4 separate regions of the Homo sapiens genome follow, and regions 1, 3 and 4 are each linked to region 2. The links are contacts of gene promoters, found by promoter capture Hi-C in blood cells and fetal thymus (Javierre and others, 2016). All regions are on one chromosome and are shown on one strand. Each heading gives the region's core, a stretch centred on a gene start or on the middle of the fragment in contact. The rest is flanking DNA. Distances are from core to core; before and after follow the strand shown.

Region 1 (5,177 bases), core at 2,537-5,036, 290 kb before region 2:
GTATCTTTAAGAAGCCCTTGCTCTTCTCTTTTGTGTAGTATTAATAGTATTCCTGAGTAAATCCACCCAGGGGACACCACTCTCACCACCCTCCCAACACATTGAAAGGACATTTTTTTCTCTCACCATTTTAAAAATGAGCACATCTATAAAAATAAAAAGGAAGAAGAGTTGTGGATGGGAGATGTTGAGACGAGGGCCAGGGTGAGCACCTTTCAGTTTCCTGGTCCTCCTCTGAGCTGCTTTCAGCTACCATTTCTCAGTACTCAGGTTGGCAGCAAGAAAGGAGTCCCAGGGTCAGGGTATAAGAGTTACTGGTGGCCTCCAGAGAGTATAGGATCAGCCTGTGGTCACAGCAGAGAGAAAGAGAACGGCATGTGTGGCTCTGGGATTTGGTGGGAGTTTCAGCAGAATTGGATGATCCAGAGGGGATTTCTGTTTTCTTTTTTTTTGTTGTTTGTTTGTTTTTTTTTTTGAGATGGAGTTTCGCTCTTGTCGCCCAGGCTGGAGTGCAATGGCACGATCTCGGCTCACCACAACCTCCGCCTCCCGGTTTCAAGCGATTCTCCTGCCTCAGCCTCCCGAGTAGCTGGGATTACAGGCATGCACCACCACGCCCGGCTAATTTTGTATTTTTAGTAGAGACGGGGTTTCTCCATGTTACTCAGGCTGGTCTTGAACTCCGGACCTCAGGTGATCCGCCCGCCTTGGCCTCCCAAAGTGCTGGGGTTGCAGGCGTGAGCCACCACACCCAGCCCAGAGAGGATTTCTTGAGTGAAATGTGTTCTCTATTGAAGGCAGAGGAAAAAGAGTATACGATGAGAAATACCCAGATTTCCATCCCCCCAAGAGCTTGTACATATATATATATACGTGTGTATATGTGTATACGTGTATATATATACATACACGTGTATATACGTATATATATATATATATATATGGGATATTTATATATATATATATACACACACGATTGAACTATTGCACAAGGTCCAAGACATTATCTCAGAAAGGAGTAGATAATCCTGACCTAAGGAATAGGGAATGCGGAATTCCAGGAAGCACTTCTCTTTCATTTTCCCCCACTCCTCCCAAGCAGTGCCTCACTTCTGCCTTGTCTAGCTGTACTCCGGAAAATTAAGAAATTTATGAGTGTAGCACCACGTATACCAATGGGAAGGATGGGAGTCAGAAGTCAAGTGAACTCAGCCCGCCTCTGTGTACTTTGCACTTTTCCATTTCCCTTGGTACCAGGCACTTTCATACTTAATCCATAGTGGAGCTGTCACAGTGAGCAACTCTGACAATGACAGCTTCTACCCCAGAGGCCACCCCAAATATGGAGCTAAAGGCTCCAGCTGCAGGAGGTCTTAATGCTGGCCCTGTCCCCCCAGCTGCCATGTCCACGCAGAGACTTCGGAATGAAGACTACCACGACTACAGCTCCACGGACGTGAGCCCTGAGGAGAGCCCGTCGGAAGGCCTCAACAACCTCTCCTCCCCGGGCTCCTACCAGCGCTTTGGTCAAAGCAATAGCACAACGTGAGTAGCTGTTACCTTCTCCTCTCCTGGGTGGGATTCGTGTTCCTAAGCCTCCCTTGGACTTATTTTTCCCCCCAATTTCATCAGTCCTCCACTTTACAGATGAAGGTCAGCAGTGAAGAGATTGGGCGAGTGACTGCGCTGAGATTTGCCTTCCTGGGCTGCCACTCTCTAGGCAGTTTCTTACTCTTTTTTCCTTTCAGCTGTGTTGGCCCCCCAAGGCTGGTGCCAAGTGAGAGCTTGGACTTAAAAAAAGCTTCTACAGAGGACATTCTTTTAATTTAAAAGTGTGTCATCTGTGCTAGAACCCCAAATAATTTCCAAGCATAATCGGAAGCTTCCTTTGCAAAGTCTCCCCCCGAATTCTGCCCCATCACCAAATCAGTATTCATTTGACTGAAGAAGTGGGAAGAGAGAAGAATTAACTTCTGCACTTAAAAAATTCAGGGTTGGTAGGAAAGGAAAGATAGACTTTGCATTCTCCAAAGAGGGCTTAATCTCTTGTCTCCAGAAACTGGGACCCCAGACTCATTTGGGCTGAGTTTGGCCCGCTTCAGGTCTCACTTTCCCCAAATGTAAAGAAAAATTGAGGACTCCACCACAAAGCTATGCTGGCTGTGTGGGGCTCACCACTTGAATTAGAAAATTCAGAGGAAGTTTTGCTACTCCATTGAGTTAGTTTCCCAGCTACTCCTGATTTCAGCAGACCTCTGACTTTTCTCTGTGTCCCAGCATCTCAGCTTTTGCAGTCCTGTTTATTCCTCAAGCTTAGCTATTACCTTTTCTGTGTTTTCTTGTGGACTGAGTGTGACTTACTGAGAGATCCTTCATGTCCTAGACTTATGCCATTCCTGATGACTGCCCAAGCGGACCATGGAAGCTTCTGGGCTCATCACTGGAGAAGCTCCCTCTGCCTGCACTGTCTGCTGGTACAGGGCATTTTCTCTTGCGAACTGGGGTGGAACTAGAAGAATGTCTGTCCACATTCCTGGCCCGTCACCACCACTAGCTGATTTCTATGCCTCAGGCTGGAAGTACTCAACCAGTCCTCTAAGATTCTGTTTCTGTAGCTTATTTCTCAGGGGTATGCTTTTGTAGATTCCCCATTAGCCTGCAGTGGGAGTTAGCTGGTGGTAGATTGCTTAGAGCACAGCTGGCAGCAGTGTGGATCACCCTGCCCCTCTTTCCTCCAACCTTATCAGCATTGGCAGCCCCCATGCAGAAGCATCTCCACACACAGCCAATGGCATGTGATGGCTTCCCTTCAGAGGTCATGCTTGTTATCGTAAGATACTTCTAAGCTTCCTTCTCTGTAGTTTCCTTTGCAGTTTTTGCTCCTTTTTGATCTCAGATATCAACTTGTCTAAGCAATATTTAGCAGATGAGGTCTGGATTTTTATGTTTATAGAGACATCTCTGAAGCTCAAAACCTACCAACTAGCAACTTTAGGATAGTAGCTCATAGGTTTTGGACAAAATTATGTCCTTGTTTCTTGGAAATCGAACAAATCAGAAGATACCTTCCTCAGGCTTGTATTGTGACATTTTCCAGGGTATACTTTGTTCCGAGTTTCCCTTCCTGCCTTGATGTTGTGATACAGTGTAGGTGACCAGGGAAGCCTATCTGTAGTTGATGGCAGGTATTACAGTCCCATCACAGGTGGTACAAGATAAAGTAATTTGCTGGGGCTTAGAGGACTGGTTGAGTACTTCCAGCCTGGGGCATAGGATCCACGCAAGGATTTATATAGAAAACATGCCAGGTATGATTAAGGTAGAGGTTGATTTGGAGGACCTTCTTAACCTAAATTAATATTTTAATATGTCGGAAGTGTTAGAGACAAGTTTTTGAGCTGGGTTCCTTTTATATTTCTGGTTTGCCCCACCCTTTTATCTAGTTTGCCAAGGAACAAAATACATGGAAGTACTTCTACACCTACTGCACATATGCATGCACACACCTGGCTCTTCTAGAAGTCAAGGGCTCAGCAAAAACCCCTAGTTAGGGGGTGCAAATAGGAACCCCAAACACTTCCATGAGTTTCATGGGTTACTTCCTTTTATTTTTTTGAGACAGGGTCTTGCTCTGTTGTCCAGGCTGGAGTGCACTGGCACAATCATGGCTCACTGCAACCTCCATCTCCTGGGCTCAAGTGATCCTCCCACCTTAGTTTCCTAAGTAGCTGAGACTACAGGCATGCTCCTGGCTACTTTTTGTATTTTTTTTTTTTTTTTTGTAGAGATAGGGTTTTGCTATGTTGCCCACTTAGTCTTAAACACCTGGGCTCAAGTGATCCGCCTGCCTCGGCCTCCCAAAGTGCTTGGATTATAGGCATGAGCACCATGCCTGACCTGTGAATTATTTCTTAGTGTGTTCAGTGAGGTTATTTACTAACACTTGATGTTACCAAGCTATTGACTGCTTCGAAGACAGCCTCATTTTATGCTGTTGGGCAGATTTTTCTTCTTGTTGCCCCTCTGAGTTCCATTATATATATCAAGCCTCCGTGCTTCTTCCCCATGCAAACTGAAACCAGCAGACTGAAACTGGCTCTCTAAAGGTGAGCTGGAGTAGTCATTTGCAAAATGTGGTCTGCACACTTTGTGGGCTTCCCAAGACCATTTCAAGAAGTCTATGAGGCTAAAACTCTCTTCATAATAATACTAAGATGTTATCTGCTTTTTCACTTGTGGATATTTGCACTTATAATGTAGAAGCAATGGTGGGTAAAATTACACTGTAGAACGAATCAAGGCAGTGGCACCAAATTATACTAGTTGTCGTTGTATTTTTCACTGCCACACATGCGCAAAGAAAAAAGCCCTTTGCACTTAATAATGTCTTTGATGAAACTGTAGGATTACTAATATTTAAAAATTTGAGACCCTTCAGTATAGGTCTTTAATATTCTGTGTGGCAAAATGGGAAGTATGCATGAAGTACTTCTATGAGTACCAAAATATGTTACTTGTCTTAAGGCAAAGACCTCGAGTGATTATATGAGTTGTCAACCAAACTTGCTGCCTTTTTTTTTTTTCATAGAACTAGAAAGAACAACTAACAAACTGTAGGTCATTCAGACCTGAGTACTTGTAAGACATTTTCTTGAAAATGAAAGAAATCAGCCCATCACCTCAAGGAAAACAATAGATAATACATATCTGTTGCCCAGAATAAAATTCAAGCTTTCAAGCAAAATTAGGAAAAAAAACCAACTTGTATCCAGTACCATGAGCTTGATAGCCCCTCTACTTGAAGACTTTTCTGATGAGATTAGTGGTGATATTAACAAATATGACTTTTTGATATTATTAATATACAATGAAGATGTTAACATTTGGAAGATCTGTGTAAACTCAACCAAAGTATGATGTTAGGAATTCTGCATGGGTAAAAGATCCATTGAAAGAGCAAGATCACCAATGGATTTTTTTTTTCTTTTTTTTTTGAGACAGTCTTGCTCTGTCACCCAGGCTGGAGTGCAGTGGCACAATCTTGGCTCACTGCAACCTCTGCCTCCCGGATTCAAGCGATTCTTCTGCCTCAGCCTCCCGAGTAGCTGGGATTACAGGTGCCTGCCACCACGCCCAGCTAATTTTTATATTTTTAGTAGAGACGGGGTTTCACCATG
Region 2 (5,627 bases), core at 2,809-5,308:
TGGGAAGTTGAGGCTGCAGTGAGCCAAGACCGCGCCACTGCACTCCAGCCTGGATGAAGTTCCTGGGATGGGTAGATGTCTTTGAGCTGTCAAACGAAATTAGGCCCATCCCCACTTCATCCAGAGCCTGCTGCTTTGTATTTGAGGAGCTCCTGTACAGTTTCATTTTTAAAGCATCAACAGGCTGGGCACGGTGGCTCACGCCTGTAATCCCAGCACTTTGGGGGACCAAGGTGGGCAGGTCACCTAAGGTCAGGAGTTTGAGACCAGCCTGGCCAAGATAGAGAAACCCCGTCTCTACTAAAAATACAAAATTAGCCGGGCATGGTGGCCTGAGCCTGTAATCCCAGATACTCAGGAGGCTGAGGCAGGAGAATCGCTTGAACCTGGGAGGTGGAGGTTGCGGTGGGCTGAGATCACGCCATTGCACTCTAGCCTGGGCAACAAGAGCGAAATTCTGCCTCAGAAAAAAAAAAAAAATTAGCCAGGCGTGGTGGCGGGCACCTATAATCCCAGCTACTCGGGAGGCTGAGGCAGGAGAATCGCTTGAACCCGGGGCAGAGTGGAGCAGGTTGCAGTGAGCAGAGATCATGCCACTTCACTCCACTCTAGCCTGGGTGAAAGAGCAAACTCCATCTCCAAAAAAAAAAAAAAAGAAAAAGAAAAAAAAAAGCATCAACAGCAAAAGCTGATACAGACATACAAGATATACATTCCCATACCACAGCTGGGGAAACCCAGGCCCGAGAAAGAAGGGCCCACAGTCACATGACAAGTCAGCAGCTAGGTTCTTTCCACTGTTTCAGTTTCTTTCAGATTAAGATCCCAGTTTACAGGGCTAGAGGCCAGCCACTGACTTGCTGCGGGACTACGGGCAAGTCACTTAACCTCCTGGACACTGGCATCGACATCCCCATTCCAAAGATGGAAAGTACAGCTCAGAGGACTGCTAATGAGATCACGTCCATGTGGAAGCCATTTGAAAACTTAATGTCATTATTATTTAGGGTTTTAAAAAAGAAAATTTTAGAAGATTGTGTGATAGTTCATGTGGAAGAAAAAGAAAAGAAAAAATCTTAGAAGGCTGACTGAGCACTGGCATTGCCAAAACTCTGATCACAACTCAGTTATTACCTCACTGAGTCCCAGGACCAGATCCCAGTCCTCTCTGGGCCTCAGTTTCCCCAGCTGTAAAATGACAAGGCTGGATGAGACTGATTGTTCAAAAGAGGTGCTTTAAGAATATCTGCATGTGGCCAGGTGCGGTGGCTCATGCCTGTAACCCTAGCACTTTGGGAGACCAAAGCAGGCGGATTACTTGAGGTCAAGAGTTCAAGACCAGCCTGGCCAACATGGTGAAATCCATATCTATGAAAAGTACAAAAATTCACCGGAAATCGCCTGAACCCAGGAGGCAGAGGCTGCAATGAGCTGAGATCATGCCACTGCACTCCAGCCTGGGCAACAAACAGAGTGAGACTTCATCTCAAAAAAAAAAAAAAAAAAATCTGCATGTGAGTGATTCAAAATTAATTTAAATTTTTTTTTTTGAAGTAAAGAAACAGAAAAAGACAAAATTTTAAAAATTTTTACCTTTTTTTAAATCTTTCCTTTTTTTCTTTCTTTTTTTTTTTTTTTTTTTGGAGACAGGGTCTTGCTCTGTTGCCCCCACTGCAGTGCAGTGGCACGATCTAGGCTCACTGTGGCCTTAACCTCCCAGGCTCAAGCGATCTTCCCACCTCAGCCCCCTAAATTAGCTGTGAGTACAGGCATGTAACACCATGCCTGGCTAATTTTTTTGGTATTTTTTGTAGAGATGGCATTTTACCATGTTGCCCAGGCTGGTCTCGGGAACTCCTGAGCTCAGGCAATCTGCCCGCCTCAGCCTTCCGAAATGCTGGGATCACAGGTGTGAGCCACCGTGCCCAGCCCCATTTAAAAAACCTTAATAGAGGCTGCGTAGGGTGGCTCGCGCCTGTAATCCCAGCACTTTGGGAGGCCGAGGCGGGCAGATCACCTGAGGTCAGGGGTTCGAGACCAGCCTGACCAACATGGAGAAACCCCGTCTGTACTGAAAATACAAAATGAGCCAGGCGTGGTGGTGCATGCCTGTAATCCCAGCTACTTGGAAGGCTGAGGCAAGAGAATTGCTTGAACCTGGGAGGCGGAGGTTGCAACAAGCCGAGATTGCACCATTGCACTCCAGGCTGAGCAAGAAGAGCGAAACTCTGTCTCAAAAAAAAAAAAAAAAAAAAAAATTCAATAGAAAATGACACTCAGATGTGTCATGCAGTACACACTGGAGATGACCAACATATGAACTAGTACTGCCATGGCTCCAGAGCTACTCCTGGCAGTACTAGTTAATTTGGCTAAATCCCAGCTCTGCCATTTACTGACCATGTGATCCCAGATAAGTTATTTAATGTTTCTGAACTTCAGCTGTCTCCTGTTTAACATGGAGCTAGTAAAAAAAAAACTATCTGAAATGGCCGTGGTGAGGATTAAATGATGTGATTCACATAAGCCACTAAGAAAATAACAAGAGTAGTTGGCACGTGCTAAGTACTCAATATATTTTAGTTTTACTGTTATGATCAGCTTAACCCTAAGTCTCTCCTGCAACATCTGCATGCATCTGAACATGGCATAAGTGCACCCAACTCAGGGCCACTCACTCACCTCCAAGCTTATTGAGGACCCGAGAGACAGCTTCAGCACAGCCTCCACAGGTCATGTCCACAGAGAACTCGTGCTTCTGAAACAAACACAGGGGGACCATGACCCGAGCCCTGTAGAGTGACCCCCACACAGTGCCAGCAGACAGGCCCACTCAGGGTCAAGACAGAAGACAGAGAGACTGGGCAGGACCTGGTTGGCATCAGACTCATCAGAAGCCTGTTTCTGAGCCCGTCTCTTCAACTATAGAGTAGCTAAGAGTTTCTACCTCACAAGTTGTATTCAATGGAATCATCCCTATAAATCCTTTAGCAGTGTCTGGCACATAGTAAATAGAATCACCTGGAGATCTAGTTTAAAATGCTTTTTCCCAGTCCTACCTTCAAAACACTGATTCTTGAGCTATGAGCTTTGTCTCAGGGCCACCAGTAACTCTGACAGGGATGGGCCCCCATACTCTGAGCAATGCTGATCTGGTGGGCCCACTTATGAACCACAAAATTATTTTCTGCACTAGAGTCACCTACAGCTTGCAAAAACTACAGGTTCTGGTCAGCAGGTCTGGGCTGGGGAATCTGTTATGTCTACTCATTACCCCAGGTGATTCTGCTTTCATCCAAGGGCCGCATTCTCAGAGGCAGCATCTGGGTCCAGGGAAAGAAAGGATTGCCTGGGTTCCCCAGTGGGTTGGAGGCCAGGCAGGAAGGGATCCCCGGCTCCTAGTCTTCATGTAAGCTCTACATTCTACAGTCTCTAGGATATCTAACAGATCAAGGGTCTGAAGGTAAGCTCCCAGAAGACAGAGGTTTTGTTCAGTTCACTACTGGATTCCTAATACTTGGAACAGTGCCTGGACAGAGTAGGTGCTTAAAACTTATTTTTGAGTCAATGGATAATTGACATGGCTGGTTTGAACTTCTGGATCTTTTGCTTTGCTTTCACACAAGGATTACTTATACCAATACTTTATTTTAAAATCTCTGGAAATGAGACCATCTGAAATCAGATAAATATGGCTTCAGATACCAGCTCTGGCACTACTAGTTGCATGATCATCAATATGTTACTTCTCTGTGCCTTAGTTTCCACATCTGAAAATTGAGGGTAAGAGTCCCTCTCTAGATTTGTGAATGGGATGAACACAGGATTTTAAGTACGGTTAGCCAGCATCCAAGATGGCCTCAATGATCTCTGCCTCTGGTATTTATGCCCTTGAGTAATCCCATTCCACATGTCTCGGGTTGGTCTGTGTGTCTTATAGAATATGGCTTGAAGTGAGGTTATGTGGCTTCTGAAGCTATCACAATGTCATAAAGGACACTGTGACTTCTGTCTTGCTCCATTTCTGGGGTCACTTGCACTAGAGGAAGTCAGCTACTAAATTACAAAGAAATTCCAGCAACCACAAGGAGAGGTCCACAAAGTGAGAGATTGAACCCTCGAGCTAACAAGCATGTGAGTGAGACATGTTGGAAGTGGATTCTCCAGCTCCAGTCAAGCCTTCAGATGAATGCAGCTCCAGCCAACATCTCACTGCAGCTTTATGAGAGCCTCTGAGCTGGAGCCACTAGGCCAAGCTGTTCCCAAATTCCTGACTCTCAGAAACTGTGTGAGTTACTATAAATATATTTGTTGTTTTATACTACAAAGTTTTGGGATAATTACTAAGGAGCAATAGATAACTAACACATTAAGGAAATTAGAGCCTAGTACTAGGTTCCGTTGGGTAAAAGGTTAGCTATTGGATTATTAATTTCTTCCATTTGTCTCTCCTGTTTCCCTTCAAAAATCAATGGCTACATTTTTCATGGAGCACTTCAAAATATTTGAAGTCTATTACCTCAGTTGGAATCCTGGGTGTAGTGATATATCTTGCTAGAAAACCACAGGCAAAATCTCTGCTCCAGAAGGGCTCCAGTTCCCTAATCTATACCAAAAGGGTATTAGCTAACTCAATTTTTTTCAACTTTAGTGTGCATAGGAAGAATCTGGGGACCTTGTGGAAAGTGCAGCTCCCAGACACCTGCCTCAACTGACTCTGTGGATGTGGAGCGGGCCCTGCCACTCCCCATTTTTAACCTACTGGGGAGAGAACGGGAGGCAAAACTACAAACCTGAAAATAAAGTGGCTAAGTGGCTTCTCAAACTCTTTCCAAGTCTCTAAACACCGCTGAGTCTGGATTGTCACTGTGCTCTACAGAGGAAACGAAGACCAAGAATTAAGCAGCTCGATTTTCCAGTGCAGACTGTTTGACCTTTGTGACTAGTAAACCACTCCTTTTATTAAGGCCAAATCTGCAAAATCTGTCTTAAAGAAAATGGTCAGTCTTTCCTTTCTTCTAAACATCTCTGATTTTTTCATCTTGTTTCCTGACTATTCACAGACAGCAACAATAACAGATTCTGGAAAGAAGGATTTGTAGTAAGTATTACAAAATCTTGTCTTTAAAATGTGGTCCTCAGCCCAACAATATGAGCATCACCTGAGAGCCTGTCAGAAATGCAGAATCTCAGGTCCCTTCCCAGAAGTCCGGAATCAGAATCCTCATTTTAACAAGACACCCAAGTCATTCCTCCCCACATTACAGTCTGAGATGATGCTCTCCTCTATTAAAAAGTTTTTTTAGGCTGGGCAATGTGGCTCATGCCTATAATCTCAACACTTTGGGAGGCTGAGGCAGGTAGATCACCTGAGGTCACAAGTTTGAGACCAGTCTGGCCAACATGGCAAAACCTGTTTCTCTACTAAAAATAGAAAAAAAATTAGCCAGGCATGGTGGCAGGTGCCTGTAATCCCAGCTACTTAGGAGGCTGAGGCAGGAAAATCACTTAAACCCAGGAGTTTGAGACTAGCCTGGGCAATACAGTGAGATCATGGCTCCATTTAATTTAAAAGAAAAAAATTGTTTTGGAAAAAAAAATGATGATGCTCTGGAACATGGATTGGC
Region 3 (5,813 bases), core at 2,527-5,026, 390 kb after region 2:
GATGTCTTGTATATTCTGAGGCCTCTTTCAGTTACAAATGATAGAAATGGAATGCAACAGGATTAGTCAGGACAGAGAACTTTTCAACCCATGAAAGATAAAAGGGGAAAGTGACTAATTCATGTAACTGGAAAATAGGGAGTATGTTAACTACAGGCATGGCTGGATCTAGGTGCTCAATGATATTATCAGGACTGGTGAGTAACGCAAATATCATTTTACCTTTGATCATCCAAACAGAATTTAAAATGCTGTGGTATACATGTGAGCTATTTAAGGTGTTGTCAACTCTACTGTGGTGACCTCCTCCTCACAGTAGCCATCATCATTCCTAACATTCACTATATCTAGAACTAGTGCAATGGACATGGTTAGAGCTTTTAGAGAGTTCACTGTCTGAAGGAGAAGCTGAAAATCTAAAACCTCACTTCTGTTTCTACTTCAGATTGCCAAGGTAAAGTGCCACGTTTATAAAAAGTGTAATACGCTATGATATTAGGGCAGAAAATTCCAGACAACAACCAGGCTTCTCCCTCGATTGTATAGGGGATAAAATTGAGGCTCAGAAAAATTAAGTGACTTTCACAAAGATACACGTAAATTCAATGACCTATCTAGTGTTACAACTCAGATTTCCTGGGTCCTAGTTGAATATACTTTTAATTTTTTGAGACAGGGTCTCACTCTGTTGCCCAAGGGGTGCAGTGGTGGGATCTCAGCTCACTGTGACCTTCACCTCCCAGGTTCAAGCAATTCTTGTGCCTCAGCCTCTTGAGTAGCTGGGACTACAGACCTTCGCCATGATGCCTGGCTAATTTTTGTATTTTTGGATAGAAACAGGGTTTCACCATGTCAACCAGGCTGGTCTTGAACTCCTGACCTTAAATGATCCACCCACCTTGACCTCCCAAAGTGCTGGGGTTACAGGTGTGAGCCACTGTGCCCAGCCTGAATATACTTTTTCTTGTAACTTGGCCATATCTCAGAATGGCTCAGCCTCTGCCTGCTGAATCTGCCTATCCCTCTCATTTAACCTAAGGAATCTGCTGAGGATTTAGACTGTTCTGAAAACCCCCAGCCTGGCCCCAAGTGGACCTCTGTGTTGGGACACAAGCCAAGCCAAGATAGGATGAATCCGCTAAGCAGGACAGTGCTATCAGGACATGCTGGGCAGATGGAGAACTGTGGGGCATGAGGCACAGTCTGAGGTTCTGAGATGTCCATCTCCCATAAGCTAGAGGCCGCATGAACTGGTTTGCTGAGGTGGTGTCCATTTATACATATTATCACTGATGAAGTATGACTTGCTCCTGCTTAACTCTCAAAAGTGTCCCCCATTAAACTATCATAAGCCTGTCTACTGTGGCTCTCCACATCTGGACACTGGTTCTGCTTTGCAAAATTCTTAGTAGCCCAGACTCTTAGAAGTTTGCCTCTGCCTTACTTTTGACCCCTGGTATCAGGATTTGGAGGTTGAACTTTTAGGGATTGTCTTGTCCATTCTTTTCAATTGAAGCTGAGGAAACCAAGTCCAGAGATACTAAATGATTTGCTGAAGATCACCAGTAATAAGAGACAGGCCTTTGGTCACTCATTCAATAGCCTTTCTACTAGATCCTGCTGCCTATGTCTGTATCTTGGAACTTGATGACTTATGCCGTCAATCTTGGGCCTGCCTTATGTTGCTGTTTTCCTGGTAGTGCCTGGACACATCTGACTATTTGTCCACCTTGACCCTTTGTCATCATTGTAATTCTTAGATCTCTGGATATGTGGCTACCTGTTTATACATGACTCTTATGAATATAAATTTTTTGGAGGGGGACACAATTCAGTCCATAGCAACCTCTAAAATATTACATTCCTATAAAGGACAATTATGTCATTATTAATAAAAACATTAACTGCTCTAAAATACCAGGAACATTAATAACATCATCCCTCAAAGGAAAAATGACATCATGAAGCTCATTGAGCTGTTCAAAGATCCATGTGGACTAATTTTGTCCTGGGAGGAGAGAGGGATTTAGGAAGATCTCACTTTGGCTCCATTGAGTCTCCCTGGGTTAGGAGTGATTTTTTTATGTTTGTTTGGTTTTGTTTTCTGAGGAATCGGCAGCGGGTCTAATTAATGCCATCAAAAGCATGACATTTAATTAACTAAATAGCATGTTGAGCCTAATGATAACATATTTCAGCACCCGGCAGGCGGTGATGGTCTCTTGGGCCATTTCGGAGGAGGCCTGTGATTTGATAAAGAGAAACCCTTCTCAACAAAATCAGGAATCCCCCGAGAGTAACCAGAGAAGCTGCAGCAAGAGTGCCAGCCAGGCAGATTCTCTTATCTCCTGGACTCTGCTTGGAGAGGCCGAGGAACAAAGAAGAATGGCAGGGGAGGAACGGGACCGCTGCACAGCCTCGTCATCTTTTAAACATGTTTCTTGGAAATTCAGAGGCATATAGGAGCAAATTTAGCTTCTAAATGGCCTATTCCCATACCTTGGTTTATTCCAGTCCCATTGGTAAATGGATCAGGGGAAACAAGGCAGGATAGACAAGTAACTTGTAAGGGGATGTCTGAAGCCAGATTGCCAAGTCTCTCTGAGCAGCTGAGTAGGTGGACGTGGGTGCCCTCTGCTGGACACTGGAGAATCTGCAGTGATGCTTATCTGGACCCTCACCCAGGGGCTGAGAGCTTCAGCCTGGAGTTAAACCTTCTGAGTAGAGTACCCAGGGTCCCTTCAGTCACAACAGGCCTCTCCAAAGGCTGTCTCAGAGAAGTGTACTTTTAGATCATTCCGTGGCTTAACTTATCCACATCTCTGTTTGCCACCCCATTTTGGTTATGTTCCCCAAACATTCTATTCCCTTAAGCTCAGTTGTGCTATTCTTTTTCCCCTTATCTCTTTTGTAATAAATCTGGATGAAATTACTTGTATATGGCATCACAAACCGCATCCTTTGGGTCTTATATTTAGACTCTGATTTTAGAGAAGGGCCAAACAGAGGCTTAGAGTGGTGAAATGACCTGTCCAAAGTGACAAAGACCCAGCAGGGACTAAAACTCAGACTACCCCATCCTGTTTCATTTCCCTTTCCTCGATACGCATCTTCCCATAGAAAGACAATATATCCCAGTGGTGAGGCTGAAAGCTCTGGAGACAGAGGTCCTGGGCTTGACTCCTGGCTTTGCCATGCGTTGGCTGTGTGATATTGGATAGGGTATCCTTTAAGCTTTTATGTGCCTCTGTGTTCTCATCTAATAGAGTGGTTGTGAGAGTGAAATAACGTAAGGCAGATAAAGCATTCAGTATAGTATCTGGCACATAGTAGGTGCTCAATAAATAATATTTACCATTAGTTCCATGATTGCCTAGTGGTATTAGTTGGAAATTATTTTTGGTGGTTCTGTAATGGAACTGCTAGAACAAAATTTCCTAAGTTTTTTTTTTTCATTAAACATAAAAATCTACCTCTTTCCAAATGGAAGCACCTTCTAGCTAGAGTGAGCAAACTGGGAGGTGGGAGAGTTTAGGGAAAATATTTAAGTAACTGATGTATAGCTTTCTAGAGACAGTGTGGTTCAAGATGAGACTGGAAAAGCTACTGGGAGGTAGGTGGCCTTGAATGCAGGAATTTGGCTTTATTCTGCATGCAATAGGGGGTCATGGCTGATGCTTGAATATGGCAGTTTTTATTTTCCCATTTCCCTTGTATGGATTGCTTCTCCTGCTCCTACAGTGTGAGGGCTGTCAAGAGCTCGAATGATTGCTGTTCTTATCACGTGTGCACGTGCACATGAACACACCCATCTTGGGGCTTTCAGTATTCCAATCACCTTGAGGTTGTCGCCAAGGAGCCTAGTGTTGCTTGCAGCCACGTCAGAATGAAGAACAAGCTGGGCCGTCACAGTCTGCTGGTGGTGGGGGCTTGTCACTTCTAGATGGAGTGTTGTTCCCGTGCATGGAAATCGCTGGTGTGGGCGAAAAAAAGCTGAGGATACTGGCAGAGGGGAAAGAAAGGAGGCAAGTGGCTGCTTGAATGCAGGAGGGGAAAGAGAGAGAGACTTTTCTGCCATTTCTGTAGGGATTGTCCCCAGGAAAGAGACAGTCAGTCATGTGAGCAAAGGATGCCTTGACTTCCTCAGGGTGTACTTCATCTCCTGTTGCTGGCTACAGATGGCTGAAGTCAATGCTTTATTCCTCCTCTTGCTTGGCACTTTCACTTTCTGGATTTTGCCAATTGTTATTTGCTGGGGTGAGCAGGAGATGTAACTGGGAGAAAGGAAACAGGTAGGGTTGTGATAGATGTTTCAAATGGAAGCTTAATGGAATTTGCCCTTTGGGGAATGCAGCCCTTACAACCCGCATCAGGGACTCAATGACTTGGAGCTCCAAGTGTCCCTGATGACCTTTTCTGTTAGAGGCAGATTGGCAGGCCTGTAGGCTATGCGTGGATGCATTTGTTTTGGCACTAGAGTGCTCTTTTTTTTTTTTTTTTCAATGTTAGGATGAGATGACACAATTTTAAAATTTGATTTTTTTTTTTTCATTTAGAAATTTGAATTTCTGGCTTCTCTTGAAAACCAGATCATTTGATGACACTGGTCTGCATTCCCCCTTGGCAGCAATCTATAAGTAAAAAAAAGACTCTGCCCTGCTTTAAATAGGTCAAGAATTCTCTAGTTCCCTACAGTTTCCACCCTGATCCATTATCTTGATCAGCTTGGCCTTGTAAACACTTTGTAACCCAACAGTATATGATCCCTGCCTGATCCAGGCTAACCTCCCCATTTTAGAAATAAGAGCTGTGAGGTTCAGAGAGGGCCTTCGGTTTACCCATGGTCATACAGCCTCCCCCATGGACAGAGTAGGCTCCATTTACATATGATTTGAGGGGTGATCAAAAGCACTTACCCTTTTTCCTTTACTTCCAAGTGAAAAATTTACCTCTCACCCTGGCCTTCTGTTCATTAGCAGTCTAAAATGGACTCAAGAAAGAGAATTATTTGGCTATATTACCTTTCTGGCCTTCTTTAAATCATATGTTATATCTTTTGCTCTTTTCTGCTTATTTAGCTAACCTCACTCTGACCCGCTCTGACTCACTCAGACACTCAGGTAGGCCAGATGGTGTTGCTGTTGAAACTGAGGCAGTGGAGACAGAGCCTCGAATCCTCGGGTAAAAATCACAGTTCTGGGTCTGAGGCTCCTCATCTGGCAGAAAGTGTTCATAACCTCAGGAGGTGGTTATGAAGATTAAAAGAAGCAAAAAGTTGAATGTGTTTATCATAGTAGTAGCAAATTGGAAAAAATAGTAACTCAGTGTTAGAAGTTATTATTCTAGAGAGACTCAGAACTGAAGGTGTCCCAGGAGATCGTACTGTCCAACTGGCTCATTTTTGTGGTGAAAGCCATAACGTGCTTATAGTAAAAATCTGAGTGGAGAAGAAAATACAGTAAAATATAAAAGGATTTTTCTCCCTATCACTACCTTCATTTCAGTCTAATTTCCCCAGAGGCAATAACTGTTAAGTTTCTTGCGTGTCCTTTCAGATATTTTATTTGCATATACATTATAAATAACTTGCATCCTGTATTTTGACACAAATGTAATCAGACTACTCATGCTGTTCTGATACTTGCATTTTTTATTTAACAATATGTAGTAGATCTCCTTTCATGTCAGCGCATGAGGGTTTTTTTTCTGTTTTCAATGGCCCGTTTATTTCACAGGAAGTTTATACTATAGCTTACAGACCAACGAATGTATTCTGCAAAAGACCAGATACCTAATATTGTAGGCTTTGTTGG
Region 4 (5,119 bases), core at 1,760-4,259, 280 kb before region 2:
CATGGGGGAGGCTTTGGGAGTGATCACATGTAAATCACTGGTCTCCCTGAGGTTTTATACCTTGCCCTGTGCTCTATCTTAGGGCTTTTCATTGCCCATGAAGAGTGTCTCACTGTAATTCAGAAACACAAATGGTTTCCTGCTGCTGGGGCAGAGGCCTGAGTGGGCCCATACTTCAGCAGTGAGAAAGAGATCCCAAGAACTCAGGACTGGAAAGAAGAGGCTGAGAAAGTGTGGAAAGATGCCCAGAGACCTTAGGTTCTTGGGCATCCTAAGGGACCTTGTGCTAAATTTTTAGTAGCTTTCCCTAACAGCACAGCGCAGAAATTGTTTGCTTGGTTTTATTACCCAAGACTTGTACACAAAGTTATTCTGCAAACATCATTTGTTTTCAAGATTTCTTTGTATTTCTATTTTTTTACAATAGAGAGAGAACACTGCTAGATTGACTCTTAGTTTTGGATCTAGGGCTTGTTCATTGCATCGGGGTAAAGTGCCAGGCTGCACACTGTATTCACCGTGTGCTCTGTGTTCATGCAGCTGTCACAGGCCAGATATGGGCTCCCTGCCCTCTGGCTCTTTGTATTCTTGGTATGATGGAAACTGACAGATACATTTAGAAGCTGTTTCTAATGGATGTGGATTAACTGAAGCTGGAGCAGGTGGTGGGGGACACTGGGGGCCCCTGGGAGCACCAGGCCTGCAGCAGGATCATGTTGGTGTGTGCAGCACAGACCTATTGTGCCTCATGGCTGCAGGTGCTGCAGGAAAATAAGTGTAATAACAAGATCAAAGTTTGTGGCACAGCTAGACATTGCCCAGTGTTGCTCTTCCTTATTAGCTGTGCCAGATCCAGTTGATGGCAGACTGTGAAGATCCTCACAGTCACACCTGCCATTTTCCCAATTCCTAAATAAACTCATTTTCATAGGGGCCTTTCCTTTGCTTTTACCAAAGTTAAAGAATGTCCTCTCTTATGATGAAGGAGGTAGCAAAGGTCAGTGGTTTGTAATAGGAGTCTGGAAACTGGGCATTGTTAAGCACCCATGTCTTGAGATCCTCTACGAAGTCATGCTTTCTTTCGCACTGCAGTTTCTCTCACTTGGAGGTTTAACTTGTCACTGCTAGTGCTTGCCCCTGTTGAGCTAGAGTGGCAGTTTTCCCTGACCTATATTTTGCATTCTTTAGACAGGTTAGCAGGAAGCTGTGATCTCAGGTTAGATGCCAGGTGGGCATGACATGAGAGGGCCTTCTGGTTGCCATGTGGCCTCACTCACAGGGCAAGGGACATTCCCAGCCTGCAGGGATCCTGCAGCAGGAGGACAGAGCACTGGCCTGAGCCAGGAGTCCTGGGCTCGTGTCCTGTCCACCCTTACTTTTAGGACTTCCTAGCTAGGCAGTGGGCTGCAGAGTCCCTTCTAGTCCCAAGAGCATAACGTCTGATGAAATAACTTTATTTAAAGAGCAGATGTGCTTCTGGAGAATTCTGGGGATAAAAGAGTTACTTTTTTTCTGAGGTTTTTTTTTTTCTTGGCCATTAACTTTTCTTTTTTCTGCACTTTCTCTCCTCTCTCACTACTCTCTCATAGGTTCTGCCCCTGGAAAACAAAATGAAGGATCCTCGGAAGTTCCCACTCATCCTGTACCTGGGCATGGTCATCGTCACCATCCTCTACATCAGCCTGGGGTGTCTGGGGTACCTGCAATTTGGAGCTAATATCCAAGGCAGCATAACCCTCAACCTGCCCAACTGCTGGTACGTGGAGGGAGGATGGAAACCTAGGAGCACTGGATATTTTTAAAAACTAATGGGTCACAGTGTGGATTCTCCCTCTTACTTATCTCTTAAACCAGCCCACTTCACTCTAGCCCACCATCCCCTGCCACTGCCAGCCCTCACTGGCTGCCCTGGACTGCATTCTGTTTGGGGAATTCATGTAGAGCCTTCTGCTGAAGCCATTGGTGCTGATCAGCCGATGGGTAAGCCATTTCTCCTTGGAATTCCTAAGCTCAGAAGGACCGAGTATCTAGTCCATTCATGGTAAACCATTCCAAATAGACAGGGAGATGGGAGGGCAAACCTGCATTTGATTCCCAGCATCGGTTGTGCCTCTCCCTTGGTAGTAACAGGCTTGATATGCAGATGGGAGCATCTCACTGTGAGCCGGGGATTGTTGGGAGTCCTTTTGTACCTCCCTTGCATTGGTGAATGTATTATAGGGAAATAGTGAGCCATTTTGAAATGCTTCCTGAAAGGGTGAATGTCCCAGGGCATGTGCAGAGCAACCATCCTGTTTTGAAGATGAATCATCTCATGGTGGAGAGCAGCTGTTAGCAGACACTGAGAAGCTTGTTGAGTGCTCTGCGGATCAGAATCAGCTTTCAGTCTAGGCTGGCTGATCTGCCTGGGTGTGCTTTTTATTTTGTTTTGTATTGTTTTATTTTATTGTATTTTTTAAGACAACAGCACTCAGTATTTCCAGGGGCTTTCCCGTTCAAGTACGAACCAGGCTTGACCCTGCTTAGCTTCCAAGATCAGGTGAAATTGAGCACATTCAGAATGGTATGGCTATAGACCTGGATTCGCTTTTTATTTTTTTATATTCTTTTTCAGTTGATTTTAACTCGTGAGGCATACCAATTATATATATGGATGCAGTATGTGTGACATTTGGATACATATGTACAATGTGTAATTATCAAATCAGGGTAATTGGCATATCCATCTTGTGTCTACTTTTAAATTTCCAAATGTTTCTGCCCTTCCAAGAAGGAAGAGGCAGGTGGTAGCTTGGTGTAACTGTGTCACCTTTCCCTGGAAGATAAATGGATCGGGAGCAACAGAAGCAGCCCACATGATCCGAAGCCATAGAGGAGAATCTGTCTTCTTTCCTAACACCCCAAACCCAGCTGCTGTAACTCTTCTGCCTCCATTTGGGTATAATTTATTTGGCTATCCCTGCAGGTGTCACTCTCCTAAGTCCAGACTTCACAGCTCTCCAGAGGCTTTGGGGCTGCTTTGAGTTTAATGATAGAGCCACCAGATGATTTTTCCCAAGAGTTTTTATTATCTATTCATGGAGCAAGTATGACCTTTTACCAGACTCAGTCTTTACAAGGTTGTTCTCCTGCTTATAGCATAAGAACATCTTCTAGATTTTAAATTCAACCACAGAGAAACTCAAGGCACATATACACAGTCTGTATTAGCACATTTAAATAGATTTCCGACAAGGGAGGACAAATGTTTCTTGCTGTTTAACACATGAGGGTCTGGTTTAAGGTGGAGCTTTGCTTAGGGACAGAGACCTTTCCTTTTAATGACCAGGTCAGATCTGTAAGTTGATCACAGACTGTTTTCCTACTCTGTGCAGTCAAGGCACTGGAGTAATAAAATAGGGATATCCTGTGGTGAGTTACGTCATTTTTGGAAGCTACACTTGAAGCAGTAGTAGGAAGAGAGCCATAGTGGTATGGAAAGATGGAATTCTGCTCTGGCCTCTTGGTCCTGCAGTGTCTTCATCTAATTCTAGGGACACTGACTTGGATGGGACAGATATAAATAGGCTTGTGACATTTTAATTGCAATTTTGTTTTTATTTTTGAAGGCATGTACACCTGTATGCCCATGGCAAAGATTGAGATTTTCAAAAGGTATATAGAGAGCATTAAGCTTCCACCCCGCGCCCTCCACTCTAGTTCCCAATTTTACAATTTCCCATTTCAGAGGCAACCATATTCCCAGTTTCTTTTTTGTTTGTTTGTTTGTTTTGAGATGTTTAGTGTATGATTGTCATGTGGGGTGAGTGTGTGTTTTTTCCTCCTCTTTTTTCTTTTTTAAGACAAATTGTAGCACTCTGTAGGTACTGTATTGCTTCATGCTTTTTTCACTTAAAAAAAGTGATATAAAACTGTCCCCATGATAGTGATATGCTATATCATGTGATAGAGTGATATATCATGGGGATAGTTTCATATCACACCATCACACCTAGAGTTCTGCCTCATACTTTGTTAAAAGCTATACGGGGGCACCACGATTTACCTATCGAGTTCCCACTGGTTAACATTTAAATTGTTTTCAGTCTTTCCTTCTTAAATAATGCTGCAGTGAGATATTTTGAATATAAGCTTTTGTGTATGTGTGTGAGGATATCTGTGAGGTAAATTTCTAGACATGAAATTGCTGGGTCCGAAGGACATGTGGGTTTGTATCCTTGATAAGTGTCAACAAATCGCAATGGGACCATTTTGCACTCTTGCTGATGATGTATAAGTGTGCTGAGCAGGCTTGGAATGTCTCCTGTCTGTTTCGGCAGGTTGTACCAGTCAGTTAAGCTGCTGTACTCCATCGGGATCTTTTTCACCTACGCACTCCAGTTCTACGTCCCGGCTGAGATCATCATCCCCTTCTTTGTGTCCCGAGCGCCCGAGCACTGTGAGTTAGTGGTGGACCTGTTTGTGCGCACAGTGCTGGTCTGCCTGACATGTGAGTAGAAGATGATAATTGCCTTGCTTGTTTTTCCCTAAAGGGCACCCAGTCTGCAGGCTTTCATGAGAAAAGACAATGTGTGTTGTAGTGAAGCTGGCTATGTTTGTGACAGAGAACCTGGCCCATGGCCTCACTTTCAGAGTTGAGGCACCTCCAGATGGGGAAGTGAATTAATTACATATGTACTGTAAAGAACATGGGAATGAGGACAGTGGTTTATGTATAGATAGGGTATGAAATGCTGTGGAGGTGGTTATCATTCAGAGTAAAGACATGCGATTACTATCCCATATTAAATAAGGTAAAGGTCTGAAAGCCATTTAACCCATATCTGTAATGAGTATAAGTTACTCTGATGAAGGGTACTTATTTGCTTTTTCAAATAGTTGTTTTTCCACTGTGACAAGTTGCTCCTTAGATTTCCTTTAGAGGCTTTATGATAGTATTCTAGACATTTTTTAATGTCAGTCTTACTAAATATGTTTCAGAAAATTTCTATTGATTAACCTAGGTATTTGATTGATCACTTGTGTTTTATTCTTCTTCTCTCAACCCCATTCCCAGGAGTGTAAGTTAAAAGACAGGATACCCTTCTGTTTGCTGTGGTTGAAAACTGGTGACATTTAG

The links. Contacts are between HindIII fragments. The CHiCAGO score rates a contact against its expected background, and 5 or more counts as called.
Region 1: a fragment that was not itself captured here is called in contact with the fragment with the promoter of ATOX1-AS1 in region 2 in 5 of 17 cell types (M0 macrophages, M2 macrophages, monocytes and 2 more); the score reaches 8.4 in M0 macrophages.
Region 3: a fragment that was not itself captured here is called in contact with the fragment with the promoter of ATOX1-AS1 in region 2 in 1 of 17 cell types (total CD8 T cells); the score reaches 7.7 in total CD8 T cells.
Region 4: a contact is called between a fragment that was not itself captured here and the fragment with the promoter of ATOX1-AS1 in region 2, in 3 of 17 cell types (M1 macrophages, M0 macrophages and monocytes). The highest score is 8.5, in M1 macrophages.

Annotation. Positions count from the first base shown.
Region 1 is chr5:151,457,391-151,462,567 of GRCh38, forward strand. SLC36A1 (solute carrier family 36 member 1) reads left to right here. Exons shown (of 11, transcript NM_078483.4): 2 at 1,398-1,545. The coding sequence starts at 1,403. Among named protein-coding and RNA genes, the nearest start is that of SLC36A1, 12 kb to the left of the region's middle. The HindIII fragment of the contact is 1,885 bases long and covers 2,845-4,729 here.
Region 2 is chr5:151,749,022-151,754,648 of GRCh38, forward strand. ATOX1-AS1 (ATOX1 antisense RNA 1) reads left to right here and starts at 4,059. Exons shown (of 4, transcript XR_007059008.1): 1 at 4,059-4,288; 2 at 4,652-5,101. ATOX1 (antioxidant 1 copper chaperone) reads right to left here. Exons shown (of 4, transcript NM_004045.4): 2 at 2,683-2,758. RefSeq lists an enhancer at 649-898. The HindIII fragment of the contact is 3,507 bases long and covers 2,688-5,627 here.
Region 3 is chr5:152,140,403-152,146,215 of GRCh38, forward strand. All of the region lies in intron 1 of LINC01933 (long intergenic non-protein coding RNA 1933), which reads left to right. Among named protein-coding and RNA genes, the nearest start is that of LINC01933, 180 kb to the left of the region's middle. The HindIII fragment of the contact is 1,089 bases long and covers 3,233-4,321 here.
Region 4 is chr5:151,475,001-151,480,119 of GRCh38, forward strand. SLC36A1 (solute carrier family 36 member 1) reads left to right here. Exons shown (of 11, transcript NM_078483.4): 9 at 1,590-1,756; 10 at 4,320-4,489. It also overlaps the pseudogene RNA5SP197. Among named protein-coding and RNA genes, the nearest start is that of SLC36A1, 30 kb to the left of the region's middle. The HindIII fragment of the contact is 1,324 bases long and covers 2,348-3,671 here.